Linked DNA regions of Homo sapiens: region 1 is linked to region 2. The links are contacts of gene promoters, found by promoter capture Hi-C in human tissues and cell types (Jung and others, 2019). All regions are on one chromosome and are shown on one strand. The core of a region is centred on a gene start or on the middle of the fragment in contact, and the rest is flanking DNA. Distances in the headings are between cores, read along the strand shown.

The links. Contacts are between HindIII fragments. The study calls those that stand out against the background at their distance.
Region 1: a fragment that was not itself captured here is called in contact with the fragment with the promoter of CDK5R1 in region 2 in 1 of the 25 tissues and cell types used here (lymphoblastoid cells).

What each region holds. Positions count from the first base shown.
Region 1 is chr17:32,836,508-32,840,750 of GRCh38, reverse strand. All of the region lies in intron 1 of MYO1D (myosin ID), which reads left to right. It overlaps LOC124903981 (a long non-coding RNA gene), which reads right to left. Exons shown (of 4, transcript XR_007065713.1): 2 at 1-4,243. Among named protein-coding and RNA genes, the nearest start is that of MYO1D-DT, 38 kb to the left of the region's middle. The HindIII fragment of the contact is 3,784 bases long and covers 42-3,825 here.
Region 2 is chr17:32,484,278-32,488,373 of GRCh38, reverse strand. CDK5R1 (cyclin dependent kinase 5 regulatory subunit 1) reads right to left here and starts at 1,381. Exons shown (of 2, transcript NM_003885.3): 1 at 1,212-1,381; 2 at 1-898. The coding sequence starts at 753. RefSeq lists enhancers at 295-854, 2,094-2,595 and silencers at 742-1,031, 1,122-1,381, 1,492-2,021. The HindIII fragment of the contact is 18,533 bases long and covers 1-4,096 here.

The DNA.
Region 1 (4,243 bases), core at 684-3,183, 350 kb before region 2:
CTTTATATTTGAAATGAAATCATCTTTCTCTCTGTTTTGGTGGCTGAAATTCAGAATGTGTATGTTTTGGAATTGTTGGGAGTCAAGTTCTGAGGGTTGAAGAGTAGAAAAGAGTAGAGAAGAATGAGGGGAAAGAAAGACGAGAGAGTAAGAGAGGGAGAGAATAAGAATGAATTATAGCCAAAAGGCAAAAACATTTCCTTAGTTCTTTACAAGCAGTGATTCCTAACCTTTTTTATGTCATGACACACATAGCAAATGGTAATATAAATACTGCCCATTGAAGGAGATGGACAAGGCTGTGCTTATGGCTGGCGGACACACCTGTAATCTGAACCCAGGTAAAAAGCTGTACTCTGCAGTGTTCTGAGAGGTCATACTTGTAAATCACTCCCACGTTGAGAAAAGCTCTGTTCCAGAATCTGGTTCTAATTATCTTGGTCCTAACCCTTGGGTCGTATGAGATACCCTTGCAACCTTCCTTTAGATGCCATTTCCTCCAGGCTGCTTCCTGAACTCCCCAGATCCTCTCCAGTGTGCGCCAGTAACACCCTGGGCTTTTTGTTGTAATTATCTAATTATTTATCTGTATAATCTGTTGTATATGAACCCCAGGAGGATAAGAACTACATCTCTCTTTTCATCTTTATAGCCCTAGTGCCTCCAGTGGGGTAAACATCTCCTGAATGAAGGAATTATGCTCTGCCCACATAAAAAGATGGAACAAGAAAATTGTAATTGAAACAAGATCTTTTGTGTAAATATTCTTTCTTTCTAAAAGGAGACGGCTTTGAATGGCAGCCCTGGAAAGGAAAGTGAATGAGAACTATGTCTTTTTGGCATTATGTGTCTGGTAGTTTTGTCAGACCGTCAGATCTTCAATTTCTTAAATTTTGCCTTGTATTAAATATCTCACTATTCACGTTGCAAAATAAGACTCAACCCATTTTCAGAATAACAAATCCCCTGTGGAAAAAATGCATTAAAAATCCTGAGAGTAAATACAGGCCTAAAAATATGAGCAGTATCTCTGTTTTGTCCACTCACAGAATTATGTGTCCTGTCTTGTTTGTACTGAAGAGGTTGAGGAGGATTAATCTCTTCCTATAGGGTGAGCTTCCTTCCCCATGCTTCCCTTCATCCTCTGCCTTTCTCTGGAATTGCCCCTTACCTTCAACTTGCTGTCCATATTCCAGCTCACAGTGTTTCCAGGTTCACAGCCTTACTGCACTATGGTATGAGAGAATCCAAACTCAAACTGATTAAAGCCACACGCAATTACTCCTAACTTAGTCTGGCCCAATTTAAAAGCACTTAAATTCTCTGGCAGGTCTTTTCCACTCCTTTGGTTCTTAGGCCCTGCCACTATAGGTTACAATTATTTTGATAAGGCTCCAGCTTGCTTTGAATTCAGGTTGAAGTTTTTTCTTTATTCACTTCTTGGCTCTTGGAAAAATAAGGTTCTTTCTTCCTTGGGACCAAGGTATACCTCTGTTTAACACTGAATTAACAAATTGTCCATATAGTTCTCTCCAACAGCTTAGTCTACCTTCTTGGCTTAGACTTAGTCCTTTTTGCTTTTGCTTTCCTTTAGTTCTTGACATTTCCTGTACTTTGAGACAAACTATTAAGGTGTTCCTACTCTGCTTGTTTTTCTTGTTTTTTGTTTTGCTAACAACTTATGTTATTCTTGCAAAAATATATGATGGAAGGAAACATGGCTGAATAGCAATTGTTTAAAAACCTTATGGAAAATTATATGTAATCAAGTTGTAATTTTTCATATATTAAGCATTTAGTGTACTTCCAAATAAAATCACAATTGGATTGGAGTTGGGTGTATAGGAGGGAAATTGACTAAACAATTTCAAAGTTTATGTGGAAACTAAATATGTGAAAGTAGCATAGAAAAGTTTGAAGAAGAGTATTGAGTCAGTTGTTAATATTCCTCATAGTCCCTTAAGTGGGCTCCTTGACTGTACTCCTGACTTCCTCTAGTAAATTATTTTTATTTTCTTATAGATAAAGTGATCTTTCTAAAATGCCTATCTGAACACTTTGCCCCCGATGAAGCCCTTCGGTGGCTTACTTTGCTCTCAAGATAAAGTGCAAACTCATTTTTTAGATCTTTAATATCCTGTGTGATCTCGCCCTTAATACTTCTCCAGCCTGAGCTCTTGCCTGTACTTTTCCCGTCTGTCTGTTTACTTGTCTCCATCTTCTCACTAGCCTTCAAGCACCATAAAAATAGTGACTATCTAGTCACTATGTCTCGTTCCCTGTTTTATCCCTACAATCTAACGTGATGCAGGTGCTTAGTAAATATTGGTCAAATGAAATAATTATAAGGCTAAGACCAAATCGATGGAACTGAAAAGACAGTCCAGAAGCAGACTATTTCGTGTCTAAAAATTTAATAAATGATAAGGTATGCATCATAAATCTGAAGAGGAAAAGAATATTTGATAAATGGTATTGCCAGAGCTGGTTATTAATTTGGAAAAAGATAAGAGTTAGAGATGAGACCAGTATGTTAATAGTACCCCCAAAAAGGTTGCTAAGGCATTAAAGAGTTAATTTTTTTAATTTTAAGAATATAGTTTGACATGAATATTTATAGGGAAATACTTAGATTTATGGGGAATATTGTAGGGAAAAAATATTTCTAAGCTTGGGTGTGATCACCGATCCAACTACATAAAAATTTGAAAAGCACAAAGAACATTACATCTTGGGAAATGATTGCAGTAAATATAAAAATAAAAATGTTGTAAAGTATTATATGAAAAGAAAAGCACAATACCTTAGTGAATGAGAAGAACTCTAAAAAGCACTTGATAAATGCATACACAAAATGAAGACCGTTTATGAAAATGAGAATATAAATGACTAAACAAAAGTAATTTCGATTTTACTAGTAATCACTGAGTTAAACATTAAAACAATGAAATACAAATTTTTTGTCCTATCAGACTGATAAAAAATAGGGGAAAAGCCAGAGTTGGTGAGGACATGGTGAGTTGGTATTATGATGCATTATTGGGCACCAGTATCAACTGATAGAATTTTTCTGAACCAGTTTGGCTCTGTCTGCATCAATACCAAATGGTTGTGTACATTAATTCAGTAATTCAACTTCTGTGAGTATGGATGAAGGAAAGATTTTAGATACAAATAAAGCTTTAAATTTTGGTTATCAGTGTTTAATTAAAGCAAAAATTAGAAATAGTCTATTTGTGCCCACCTAGGGATGCAAAAAGAAAGAAAGAAAATAATCTAAATGTCCAGCAGTAAGAGAATCATTAAACGGTGGTTAGATCTAATTGAGTAATGCATAGCCATTAACAATGAACATGAGCCACAGTCTGGGAAAAGATTTTTATTATATATTATGGTCCTATATAATATAAGATTTGACAAAGCACTCATAGCTAGAACATTTAAAGAACTACCAAAAGAAAAAAAAAGACAAACAGCCCAGTTAAAAAAAAAAAAAGAAAAGGCAGGCACTTTGAAAAGAAGATAACCAAATGATCAATAAACATTTAAAAAGTCCACAACATCATTGCACATCAAGAAAATGGGAGCTAAAACTACAATGAGATAATATTACACACTCATCAGAATGGCTAAAATTTTAAAAACTGACAAAAATCAAATATTGGTGAGGATTCAGAATGAACCATTTAAAAAAAAGGAAAAAAATATTGGTGAGGATATGAAGCAACTGGAACTCTTACACATTGCTGGGAAACATGTAAATTACTTCAGCCACTTTGGAAAACTGGCAGTATCTCCTCAGGCTAACTCTATACCTATCCTATGACCTAGCGATTTAACTCCTAGGTATATACTCAGGAGAAGAATTCATGTCTACCAAGAGACTTTTAAAAGTGTAAAAAGAGTAGCTTCATTCAAACTAAACCAAAACTGAAAATAATCCAAATGTTCATAAACAGGAGAATGGCTTAACCGTGGTATAATCTAATGTAATAATTAATATAATTATATGATGTCATTATGTAACTATAATAGTTAATGTAATTAAATTGTGGTATATTCCTATATAGAATACTGTATGGTGATAATGAAATAACAAATTAGTGACACACACAACAACATGAATGATTCTCACTAACACTATGTTGAACAAAGGAAGATAGACCAAAAGAGTACATACTAAATGATTCCACTGATTTGATGGAAGAGTAGGCAAATTGATTAGTGACTGATCGTCATAGAA
Region 2 (4,096 bases), core at 132-2,631:
CTCCACCAGGAAGGGCTTGAGCGGGTAGGAGATCTCGTTGCCCATGTAGGAGTAGGAGAGGTACAGGCATGTCAGCAGGACGGCCTGGAGCTCGTGATCCGAGCCCACCTCGGAGGAGATAACATCCCTGCAGAGCATGTAGAGGAAGACCACGTTGGCCGGCGTGATGAAGCCCTGGTCCTGCCAGCCCTGCAGAAGCAGCGAGCGGTCCACGCTGCGCAGCCAGAGCACGGGGTCCGTGGGGGACAGGTGCTTCAGGCGGTAGCACCGGCGGCAGAGAAACTCACCCAGGCAGCGAAGCAGCTCACTGGTGGACGCCTGGACGATGACCCGTTTGGGCGTCCCTGCGGAGGTGACGGCAGGGTGAGGGGCTTTCTTGACTGAGGAGGAGCCCCCGGTCTGGGAACCCGAGAGCTGGCTGGCCGGGGGTGCAGGCGGCTGGGCCGGTGGGGGCTGGGCGAATGTGGACAGGTTGGCGCACGACAGCGACTTCTTCAGGTTCTCATTGTTGAGGTGCGTGATGTTGTTCTGGTAGCTGCTGTTGGGCTGCACCTTCTTGGAGTTCTTCTTCTTGGCCGACACGGCCACGATTCTCTTCCAAGGCAGCACGGAGATGATGGAGTGGCGCTTCAGGTTCTTGTCCTTGGCGTTCTTGCTGTTCTGTACGGCCGTATAGTGGCCCACGGTGGCCGCGCCATCCTCAAACAGCGTGGCCTTCCGGTAGCTGGGAGACAGGGACAGCACCGTGCCCATGGTGCTGCTGCGCGCCGGGCGGGGGCTCGCGCCCCTGCGCGCCCAGCCTGCCGGCCGGAGGGATAAAACCGCTCACCGAGCCTGCGGCGGCCCCGGAGAGGAGGCGGGGGCGCTCCCGGGAAGCGTGCTGCCCCCTTGGATCTGCCTGGAAAACAAGATGGTTCTTAGCGCCAGGCTGGGCTCCGCGCCGCGCCCCTGCGCCCCTGCGCCCCTCCGCCCCGCGCCTCGGCGCACCCCGCCGCCCCAGTCCCGGGCCCTACCCGCGCCCCCGCGACGCAGCCTCGCCGCCTCCACTGCAGCACCCCCGCCCGCCGCCGCCGCTGCGGTCCCCAGGCGCAGCCGGGAGGGGCCCGGTCGCCGACGGAGGCGGCCGAGGACCCCCGCCTGGACACCCCGCACGGGCGCGACCCCGGTCTCCGCTCCCCAGGGCCAAGGACGGCCGCCCAGCGCAGGCTTACCCGGCAGGCGGCAGCTCCTGCGCTCCGCGCCCTCCGCAATGCGCGCCGCGGCCCCGCCGCCGCGGTCCCGGCGCTCGGCGGCGCTCGGGGGCGCTCGGCGGGGATCGGCTGGGCTCGCGCTCGGCGGCGGCGACGGCGGCGGCGGCGGCGGCGGCAGCTAGGGAGCTTCTGTCCAAGGTTCTGCAGGCACCGCAGCCCCGCCCCCCGCTCGGCCGCCCGCACCTTCGCCGCCGCCGCCGCGCTCCCGCTCCCGCTCCCGCTTCCGGCGCGCGCCTCAGCGCCCTCCCTCGCGGGGCGCGCGCGCCGTCCACGCTCCGGCCTGGTCTCGCCGGGGAGTCGCGGCCGTTGGTGTCCTCAGCTCGAGCCGCGCACGGTGCGGGTAGGACGCGGCAACGAGCGGGAGGCACCTCTACGCGCCGGGCCCCATCTAGGAGCCGGACTCCGCGGCTGCGGCGGGACACGCGGCGTCGGCCCGCCCCGCCCCTCGGGGCCGCCCCTCCCGCACAGCTCGCCGCCCGCTCCGCGCCGCCGCCCAACAGCAGCCCGGCCGCCGGAGAGTCCTCGGCGCCCGCGCAACCCAACTCTGCCGACGCGGGGCGGGCGCCGAGCAGGGCGGAGCCGAGGGCCGACCCCGCCCGCGTCCCGCCCAGACACGTGCTGCCTTTGTTCCCGCCGCGGCGCCCGCAGCTGCCGGCCGCGGGGGCACTCTCGGCCGAGTCCCTGCCCTGGCAGCGCGCGGCCCGCCCTCTCTGAGGCTGCCGCCCTGGCCTGGTGAGGAGCCCTCCGCCGAGGCCAGGGTCCGGAGCTCCCTCCTTCCACCTGACATCCCCGTCCCTGTGGAAAGCAGCCAGGGAGCGCGGGGAAGAAGGCCCTGGGCGGGGAGAGGCGACGCCTTTACTGAGGCCTCCCGAGTGCCACGCGCACCTCGAGTGGACAGTCCAATCGGTTCTGGCCACCCCTCCGGGGCCTCCGTTCCCTCATCATGGGTAGATGACCGCGGCCGAAGTGGGCCTCAGAGATCCAAGCCAGAGAAGCGTGGCCCGTAGCCAAGCCTGAGCCCGTCACAAATATGACCTCTAAGTTCCCACTCGCCCTCTTATTTGTCATATTAAAGCTGAAGCAACTGCCCCTCCGGCCAGCTTTCTGACCCTCTTAAACGTTTTCAATTCTAAGTATGTATAATTTGAGAACTTGATGCTAGCGAAATTGAGTAAAATTCTGTTTCTGAAAGCTGTTCCTGTCAGATGTGAATCCAGATCCTTCACAAAGGCTGTTGTTCATTTACTATTTTACCTTGTTTCTGGAGATCGAGTCAAAACTGACCACAAACCTGGGAAACAGGAAACTTAAGCCCTGTCTTAATCCAGATTATCTCTGGACCTAGAGATGAGGGAGTGGCTCTCCAGAGGAGAGGATGCCACCCAGTTACCTGACCACTCCAGCCGACTAGGCTTTCACCAGCCCTGTCAACTGTCCTAGGGGGAACAGAAAGGGAATCTGGCATCATTCAAAATGGTGCAATCAAGGCAGAAAGTGCTGGGTTTTGTTTATGTGCCACTCAGATTTCTGTCAATAGGAATTCCAGGCTTTAGGAACCTTGGGGGGCAAGGCATACAGTGGAAAATGCATTGCTCTGTACCCAGAGGGCTACTTTGTCCACAGCCTTTCAGAACATCCACAACAGCTGTTATGGGAACTCAGAAGAGGAAGGCAGGCCCCCAGCTCAGTGCGCCCCTCCCTGTGAATGTTCCTCAGTGTACAAGCCTACCTGCTCTTCAAATGGAGCTGTCCTCAACCCTCCTGCATGTAACAGTAAGAAGCCAGAAGAGGCCGACGCAGTGGCTCATGCTTGTAATCCCAGTATTTTGGGAGGCCGAGGCGGGTGGATCACCTGAGGTCAGGAGTTCGAGACCAGCCTAGCCAACATGGTGAAACCCCGTCTCTACTAAAAATACAAAAAAAATTAGCCAGGCGTGGTGGCAGGCACCTGTAATCTCAGCTACTCAGGAGGCTGAGGCAGGAGAATCGCTTGAACCTGGGAGACAGAGGTTGCAGTGGGCCGAGATTGCACCATTGCACTCCAGCCTGGGCAACAAGAGCGAAACTCCATCTCAAAAAAAAAAAAAAAAAAAAAAAAAAAGCCAGAAGAAACGATTTGCTTCGAGACCCTGACCAAGTGTCCCTTTTCCTTCTCAAAGGAAAGCCGAACCCCAGCCTCTTTTCCTCAGCCCTTACTTGGAGCCTCTAGCTCCTGAGTTGGCTCTGTGCCCCCCTTCAGATTCTAGTGTTGAGCCAAGGTTAAATGTTTTCCACTTCCCAAAATATGTCCAAATTTTGAAGCCTATAATCCACCCCGGCCAGGCGTGATGGCCACACTGTGTCCAGCAGTTTCAGAGGCCAAGGCGGGCGGATCACCTGAGGTCAGGAGTTTGAGACCAGCCTGGCCAACATGGTGAAACCCGTCTCTACTAAAAAAATTAGCTGGGCGTGGTGGCGGGTGCCTATAATCCCAGCTACTCGGGAGGCTGAGGCAGGAGAATAGCTTGAACCCGGGAGGCAGAGGTTGCAGTGAGCTGAGATTGTGCCACTGCATTCCAGCCTGGGTGACAGAGTGACACTTCGGCTAAAAAAAGAAAAATCCACCCCCTAGAAAAACCTGGGCCCACTCTGTTACCTTTAACTCTCAATCTCAATTCTAGCTATTCCAATTCACGGGGAGGCGGACCAAGCTCACCCCACTACCCTGCTTCCCACTCTGCAGCAGCATGCCTCTGCATGGGCCTTTTCAAGCCAGGCCATACCCTGTGTCTTCTCACCTTTGTCCAGCCAGCCTTTCCCTAGCACCTTCAAACAGAGCTCTCGGCAGAACACCAGCCTCCTCACAC